2 separate regions of the Homo sapiens genome follow, and region 1 is linked to region 2. Evidence: promoter capture Hi-C in 16 types of primary human blood cells and fetal thymus (Javierre and others, 2016). All regions are on one chromosome and are shown on one strand. The core of a region is centred on a gene start or on the middle of the fragment in contact, and the rest is flanking DNA. Distances in the headings are between cores, read along the strand shown. Region 1 has its middle 22 kb from the start of OGDHL. Region 2 holds the start of SLC18A3 (solute carrier family 18 member A3).

Evidence for each region. Contacts are between HindIII fragments. The CHiCAGO score rates a contact against its expected background, and 5 or more counts as called.
Region 1: a fragment that was not itself captured here is called in contact with the fragment with the promoter of SLC18A3 in region 2 in 2 of 17 cell types (M2 macrophages and M1 macrophages); the score reaches 5.8 in M2 macrophages.

Annotation. Positions count from the first base shown.
Region 1 is chr10:49,782,177-49,786,463 of GRCh38, reverse strand. No RefSeq gene overlaps it. Among named protein-coding and RNA genes, the nearest start is that of OGDHL, 22 kb to the right of the region's middle. The HindIII fragment of the contact is 3,078 bases long and covers 836-3,913 here.
Region 2 is chr10:49,608,771-49,612,807 of GRCh38, reverse strand. It overlaps SLC18A3 (solute carrier family 18 member A3), which reads right to left and starts at 2,498. Exons shown (of 1, transcript NM_003055.3): 1 at 88-2,498. The coding sequence starts at 2,067. The coding sequence ends at 469. It also overlaps a transcript of CHAT not described here. RefSeq lists enhancers at 1-629, 630-1,526, 2,571-3,365, 3,366-4,037. The HindIII fragment of the contact is 17,270 bases long and covers 1-4,037 here.

The DNA.
Region 1 (4,287 bases), core at 1,125-3,624, 170 kb before region 2:
TGTGCATATCCAGTTCTCCCAGCTCTGTTTATTGAAAAGGAAGAAAGTACTTTAAGCAGATCAAAAACCTTCCATGGCTGCCACACCAAAGAGAGCTGTCCCAATTGCTGCATGAGTCTTTCAAGACTTTCTTGATGGTGTGGCTCCAACCTGCCTTTTCAGGCTTAACACTCTTTAGTCCATTTGCAAATGTTTCTTCAAACTCAAATTAATCTGGATACTCTTCCCTAAGTACATCTTCCTGTGTACTTTTGTTGGGCTCTGATAAATACATTTTCTTTCTGTCTTTCAGCATCTTAACTCTCTTCTAAATTCAGCAACAAGTCTTGGTTTTTGTACAGCTTTCCTTCCTGAACCCGATCTCATTTCTCCTTTCTGAGTGCCTACAGTAAGTGTCATCTGAATATTACTTAGGCCAGTAAAACCTTTATCTCTCTTTCTTTTGTCACTAACATTAAAAACAACAGTGACAACAGCAACACACTTCTTTTACTTAATTTTCTACTTGTTTGATTCATCTCCCCTACTAGAGAGAGACCTCTTTAGAGATGAACCTGTATCTCCTTCGCCATCATTTCTCCTCCAGGATTTAACACAGCATCTTTAAAGGAGTAGTCATAGATAAATGCTCATTGATTTGCTCATACCAATGTCTCAAGGAATCAAATGGATCCATAGATTTGGGCTTATGTGAAATCCTCTTCATCTGCGAAATATGGAAATGAAAACTATTCTGGAAAAACTACAAACTAAATATCTGTGAACAGATCACTTTAAGTACGTTTAGAAGCTGTATACATAAAACCTATGTGGAAGTCTTTTGTAAAATGAAGCTTTTTCAACAAAAATTTATTATATATGATTATATATAATTTACACATCGTATGCTATTTAATAATTAATATTTAATTCATGTTTTACCTATGTGGATTTTGTCTGTTTTCTGCCTTTTCCCTGTTTTTTTCTTTTGTGTGAATTTTCTGAAGGCTAGACAAACTCTCAGCAAACTTGCAGCATCTTAGAGACTTCTGAATGGCAGGGTAGTACACTACAGGAAGTCAGAGTGGTGAGCTGTGGTCCACAACAGGCTGACCTAGACCTGAACACCAGCTCTGCACAGCTTGGCTGCGGGGCCCTGACAACCACCCTCACCAGACCCCAGGTTACTCATTTGAAAATGGGGCTAATGACAGCTCTCTTGTAGGGTTGTGGAATGAATTAGAGATGAGTGCTAGAAAGCATTCATTAAAGGGCCAGCATTTAATGAGTGCTAATAACAGAAGCTCCCACATTTTTTTTTTCCTTCTACACATTGCAGCATAGTTTAGTCCTGGTTGCTAATGCTCTCCTTTTACTTCTCACATACTATACCCCCAATACACAGTCCCAATGGCCCAAGGACTGTCGCTACAATAAAACACCTTCAGATGCCAAGACAACATTATCTCTAAAAGTGGGAGCTGTCTGAATTATCTGTGCTAGATTGGATGTGCTATATTATTCCACACACACAAGACCACTTAAGCAATCAATAATCATTATGATAACAGAGTGTGACAAATGTCCTCTGGCATTTTTAAAAGCACATGGCTTCCTCTGGCTCGTCATTGAGAGGATCTGGCCAGTTGGGAGCTGAAGGAGGGCCCAGGCCTGCATGGGGAAGGCAATCGCTCCCAGAGCCGGGGTCCTGGGCAGCGTGGGCTCCACCCGCCATGGGACCAGTCGGTCTGTGGACCGTCCTTGGACAACACCAGGCTTCTGAGTCCTGAGTTACAAGCAGGTTTCTGCTAAGGCGAAGCAAGCTCTCTCTCTCTCTCTCTGCCTTGGCCTTCCATGAGGCTGTTTAAAAGATTAAACAGTTGCTACTTTGCCTCCAAGAAAAATTACTTTCCAGTCCTTTGGCACCATATTTTGGCTTCCTACCATTTAGAGTAATTGATAATTCCCTTGCTTTTATCACCTTCAGGAAAAAAAAAAAAAGAAGAAGTTGTCCTTAGATGGAAACATTTTTTTCTGTTTCCCTTTAAATACAGGACCCTCCCACCCTCTGTGAGCAGACCTGAAAGCCACCAGTCTTTACTATTTTCCCTGAGAGCAAATCTCCGCTGTGAACAAGGTCATCAGCATCTCTAATGTGCCCTGAACACCCTGCATTGATTAAACGTCAGCATGGTGCCTGGAGAATGTTCTCCCTCCTTACTTGATTCTCATCCTCAGGAGACAAACAAAACATAAATTCTTGAATATGGTAGATGAGTACAGGTGCCTTCAAAATCAGATTCTAGCCCCCGTTTCCAGTTCAGCATCATCTCTCTCTGCAGTCTGTCACCATCTCATCCTACCCCTTCCTCTGCTTGGAATTTCCTCCATCTCTTCTCAAATTAAGTTCCTACTCATCTTTGAAGATCCAGCCCAAATGTGACTTCCTGGGGGAGGCCTTCCCTGACCCTCTTAGACAGAATCAGCCCTTCTCCTCCCACTGTAAGCTCCCCAGGGCCCCTTACCCTATGCAGCCATGCTTCTAAAACCCTGGAGTTCCTGCTACAATGCAGATTCTGGTTCTGGAGCCTAAGATTCTTTTCTAACAAACCCCCAGGTGGTGCTGCCGCTACAGGTCCACGCAATGCTTCGAGTGGAAGAATGCAGTGTTCTCAGCACAGGGTTTTGTTCTCATTTGTGTGTGTGTCTTACCATTCTGCTTTAGCAGGACACCGACTGGCTATCTCATCCCTGAGTTCCCAGCCCTGAGCACAGAGCAAACTGCAAAAGTCAATGTGTTGAATGAGGACACCTCCCTTGTCACGCTCACATCAGCTTTCCCACAGGTCTCTTTCTTCTCCCCTCCCCTCCCCCTTCCCTCGCTCTTCCCTCCCCCTTCCCTCCCCCTCCCCTCCCTTTCCTCCTTCTCTCCTTCCCTCTCTCCCTTCCTTTTTTTTTTTTTTTTTTTTTTTTTTTAAGACAGGGTCTTGTTCTGTCACCCAGGCTGGAGTGCAGTGGTGCAATCATGGCTCACTGCAGCCTCGACCTTCCAGGCTCAAGAGATCCTCCTGCCTCAGGCTTCCAAGTAGCTGGGATTACAAGTGCACACCACTGTGCCCGGCTACATTTTTAAATTTTTATAGAGACGGGATCTTGTTGTGTTGCCCAGGCTGGTGTCAAACTCCTGGCCTGAAGCAATCCTCCCACCTGAGCCTTCTGAAGCACTGGGATTATAGGCATGAGCCACTGAACTGGGTTAGGCCTTTCCTTTTTGGTGTTCACTTTTAAGGCACACCCAGACTGTTTGCATTTTAACTCAGTAAACAGATATTTACAGACAAGATACAAAGCACAGCCAGGCTTTCTCAAGGCGAAAGAGCTGGTAGCTTCTGTTGCTCAGTGCCTTCCAGACTTCAGCCCCCTGTTCACACGCCCACTTCTCATTCTGTGTGCGTTCTGCCTGTTCTCATGTTTAGTGAGTGTGGCTGGAATCCATGGAGGTGGGACTTGGATTTCATTCCCATCCAATTCAACTGATGAGTATCCTAGTTTTAGACATGGTACTCTGAGGATGGTGGAAGGAAGGTGAAGTTTGTGGAGGAAGAGTGGCTCGCATCCATTCGTCATCCCTCGATGGTCTCAGGTTCACTTTGCATCATGAGCACTCAAGAGTTAAAAAGGTCTCATTTCTTGACCCCAGATCATGTCCTCAAGCCATTGTCTTTTTTTATGTTCTCTCTGGCTTGGCTTTTTTTTTTTTTTTTTTGCATGTGGTTTGATATGTACGATGAGCTCACAAGCAAAATTAAATTATATCATGAAGTGATAAAATGCATACAGTGGAGTTGACTTGCCATGAGCATTTGAGATGATGCAGTTCTGTCCTGTTTAAAAATATTAAGCAGCCATAGCATGTCCTATCTGGAAAGAAGCTTGCAGAGATCCTCTGGTCTATACCTATTCCCAAGTAGGGAAACTGAGCCCAGAGAAGCCACCTGGCCTCTCAGGACTCCACAAGCAGAGTGCATTCAAGCTAGGATCAGAAACCAGGACCCCTGGCAACTCCTTCCTTACATGTGCAACCCCTTGCTCTTGAACCTGATGGTTAGAACTAGTCTCCCTGTAATACACTTCCTGTGTCTGGGAGACTCAAAGGCCTCTTTTAGCCTCTGAAAGCTAACTTTTAAAAAATTTCAGGTGCATCGCTATTTGCTCAAAAGTTCTATTGCCCTTCTTCTTGACTCACATGTGTCCGGAGGTGGTTCCTTCCAGTGGGTTCTTGGTCTCGCTGACTTCAAGGATGAAGCC
Region 2 (4,037 bases), core at 1,249-3,748:
ATTGGGACTTGGAGACCCAGTTCACCCTCCCCTCTGCTCTGGCCCTGCGCGCCTCCACGCACCCCCCACCAGTAAAGAGACTCGGCCTCCTGGGACAGACACAGTTTATTGATTTGGGCGGAGGCGCCGCGGTGCAGCGGCCCAAGTTTGGCACTGGGAGCAATGGAAGGAAGGACAGACAGATGCAGGCTCTACACAGGGGAGCCGCAGGTGGGGACTCAGGGTCCTCTTCACCTCCGCAAGGAGCGCGATGGCTTCGCTGGCCTCGGTGCTCCAAGCCCCATTGGACAAGAGAGAAAGGGATATGGAACGGGTCACAGGGAGGGGATTTGGGCAGAAGTCAAGGTTGAGGAGTGGCTGGGGTACTCGCTGGAGGAGGTGGGCCCTGAGCCAGAGCTGGCCAGTGGGCTTGCAGAGCAGCCCCCTTGACCCAAGGCGGTTGGGTGGGCTGGAGGAGGAGTGGGGATGCTAGCTGCGGGTGTAGTAGTAGTTGTAGTCGTCCTCGCACGCATCAAAAGGGCCAGGCGGGCTGCGAGGCTCGCCGTCCTGGCCAGACACAGGACGCTCACGCAGGCGCACCGCATCGTACAGACCTTGCGGTGGCTCATCAAGCAGCACATCGCGCTCGGAACGGGAGCGCGTCAGGAGGCCCACGTTGCGGAGCAGCAGCAAGACGGGAGCATAGAGCAGGTTGGCCAGTCCCATGCCAAGGCTGAGCTGCTCAAAGCCCAGCGAGTGCACAATGTGGCCTGCCACTATGGGCCCGAGCGCGTAGGCCACCGAATAGGAGATGTCGGCGATGGCGTAGACGCTGCCATAGACTGAGACATGGCGCACGTCCACCAGGAAGGCGAGCGTGGGCAGCAGTGCTGTGTCGACTAGGGCTATGCCAAAACAGAGGCCGCATAGTGAGACCACTAGCGGCGCGAAGGAGCGGCAGGCGGGCACGATGCACGAGCTGGCGCCGATCACAGCCAGCCCAAGCGCGCCGTACAGCCACTGCAGGTGTGGGTAGCGCGCCGCCAGGCGCACGGTGAGGTAGACGCCCAGCACATGAGGCACGAAGGCCGGCAGCCAGGCCATGCCCATCTCCCACTCGGAAGCCGCCATCGTATGCTTCATCCACGTGGCAATGGTGGGTTCGAGGAAGGCGAGGGGAATGTTACAGGTGGTGAGCGCGCCGGCCACCACGGCAATGTAGGGGTCTAGCATGAGGCGGTGGATGGGAGTGCCCACTGGCAGGTTGGCCCGAGCCCGTGCAGCCGCCGAGAAGGGTTTGGCCACTGCCAGCAGCAACAGCGCGTCAAAGAGCGACACGGCAGCTAGCACCAAGAAGGGCACGCGCTTGCCGGCGAACTCATAGAGGATGCCCCCGAAGGGCGGGGCCACTAGGCTTCCGAAGCTAATGAAGGCCAGCGCCACGCCCAGTGCACGACTGCGCTCCGGCTCCTCCGGGTACTTATCGGCGATCATGGCTATGCCAGACGTGTCGGCGAAGGCTGAGCCCAGGCCCTGCAGGCTGCGCGCCGCGAACAGCGTGGCGTAGTCCTCGGCGAAGGCGAACAGGACTGTAGAGGCGAACATGACGCCCAGGCCGATCAGCAGCGGCACGTCGTAGCTCATGCGGTCGATGAAGGGCCCGCTCAAGGGGTTCACTAGCAGCTGCAGGATAGCCTTGGAAGCAAACAGCACCCCGATCTTCACGTCTTCGCTCTCCGTAGGGTAGCGGGGCCGAAGGGCTGAGCCCGCTGGCCACGCAGCTGTCGGGGACGCCGAGGTGTTGGCCGTGTAGGCGCTGGCATTGGCCGGAGTGGGCAGCGGCAGGGTGGGCTCCCACACCTCGGGAGTCCGGGTGGGGCCCTCGCCGCCCCCGCGCATGTGGGCGATGTAGTCGGGCACTATGGGCACGATGACCATGTACAGCATGTTGTCCAGTAACAGCGCCACGCACACGATAACAAGCACCAGGCGCCTCTGCCGCCGGGGCTCCTGCAGCGCCGCGCCCACAGCCTCCGACAGCTTGGTGGCCGCCGCCCGGGCCTGGCCCGCAGGTTCCGCGGATTCCATGCCCCCACCCCGATGCTCTTCCGAGGACGCCTCCGCCAGGGCCGAGCGCTGGCGTCCCGCAGTGCAGAGGCGAGGGCACGGGACTTCGGGGAGGCTGTCCTGGCCGAGCAGACTCCCCTGTGCCTCAGGTGGCCGCGGAGCTCATGGCCCAGCGTCCCGGGAAAGGAAAGGACTCCGTCCGGCGAGGCGTTGCAGCTACTCTTAGCCGATCCCGGGACCCGCGGCTGCTGGGCTCAGGGGCGGCCGGGAAGTCGGGCGCGCCGAGGGGCCGGGGCCGGAGACTGGGCGCACTTCGCCCGGGGCGCGCCCAGAGCAGCCCCCGCCGCGCTAAGAGGCCGCCCGCGCTGGCCGAGGGACATGCTGTTGCCGCCCGCCCGCTTGCCCGCCCGTTAGCCCCGCCGCTGCGCTCCCCTCCCCTCGCGTCGGCTCTTGCCTCCTCCGCCGCCTCCTCTTTTTTTTTCCCTTCCACTCGGGGCTGTGACGCGGCGAGTCCCAGCCCCCGAGTGGTGCCCGGGCCACTTACGTCGCTCATGCTAATGCGACGTCGGCGGGGCGGGGGCCGGGGGCGGGGCGTGGCCGGGCAGGGGTCCGCTCTCCAGATGCTCCAGGGCTGGAGGCCCAGGAAGGGCTCTCGGTGTGGAAGTCTTGAACCAGCCCCTGGGATGGGCGTTCCGCGCCGGTAGCTGGCCCTCTGCCCCCCGCCCCCTGCCTGCCCCCCGCCCGCGGTTCTAGGACTCGCGGGGTCAGCGCCCGCTCTTCTCCTCTTGGGGAAGGGGGCGCGGCAGCCGGTTCCTCGAGGCCCCTTGGGAGAGGCGGGAGCCAGAGGCTTGCGATCTCCGCTTCAGCCTGGACCTCGGCGCACAGCGAGCAGGAAGCCCCCGAGGTGAGCCGCCGCTGCGTCCATCTGTTCTCGCAGCTGGATTGTGGAGCCGCGTCCGGAGGAGCGCTGGACACGGACACCCCCAACCCTTTCTCCGACTCCGCCCCCTGGCCCCTTGCACACACACTCCCGCCAGGAGGGGAGGGGAAGGCTCAGCAACTGCCTGGCCTGGCTCTGACCCACCGGCCCCTCCGCAGAATTTCTCGGCCGCGAATCGCGGCCGGGAGCTTGTGGGGACTGAGGGCAGAAGTTGCCGCGCCCCAGTCGGGGTCGCGAATATTAGCCTGGCCGCTGCCGCCCTCCCGCACTGCCTGGCCACATTCCCCTTGCCTGGAATCCCCCTTTCTCCTTTAGCGGTCTGGTCCCCCAGCTCCGCCTCTTCTCTCCCCGCCGCCGCACCCCCTCCCCACTCTAACTCCTCCCAGGCACTCTTCGCACCCGACCAAGCCCTCCCTCGGCTCCTGCCAGCCTCCGCCCCCTGTTCTGCACACTCCCCCATCCCTCATTTTCCAGAGCCTCCTCCAAGCCCCGGGTGGGCTCTGGAGTGACTGTGGCTGGGGTCCTCTCTTGGAACTGTAAGAAACCCTTCTTGGGTGCCGCGCCCACTCCCCGGAGAGCGCCCAGCCGCTTCGCTGTCGTCAGGGGCTCCAGGGAGACTCACCTTCCTTCTGAGAGGGCCGCACCCCTTGAGGCGCCCGTGCTCAGCTGACAGGCTGAGCTGCCCAGGCTGTGCGCTGGGCCTGACGCGTCCCCAGAGCGGCGTTGACCCTGGATGGCACATGGAACCCGTGTTCCAGTGGGCGGACTGGCGGGAGAGAGGCTCCAGGGCGGCTGAGGTTGGAGGTGGGGATTGTGTTGTTGAGATTACGGTTTGCGTCTCTCTTCCAGAGTCAGAGGGGAGCCTTCCCATTTTTCTGGCCTCAAAAGTAAAGCAGCATTAGACGCAGATGCTTCTCCCATTGTGCCCCCCACCCCGCAGGAAGTGCCGCGATGCAGTGCAAAGAGTGTGGTCTTTCGAGGCAGACAACCAGGATGGCTCCCAGCTCTGCCACGTACTCATTAGAGTACCTGCAGGGAATTACTTTGCCTC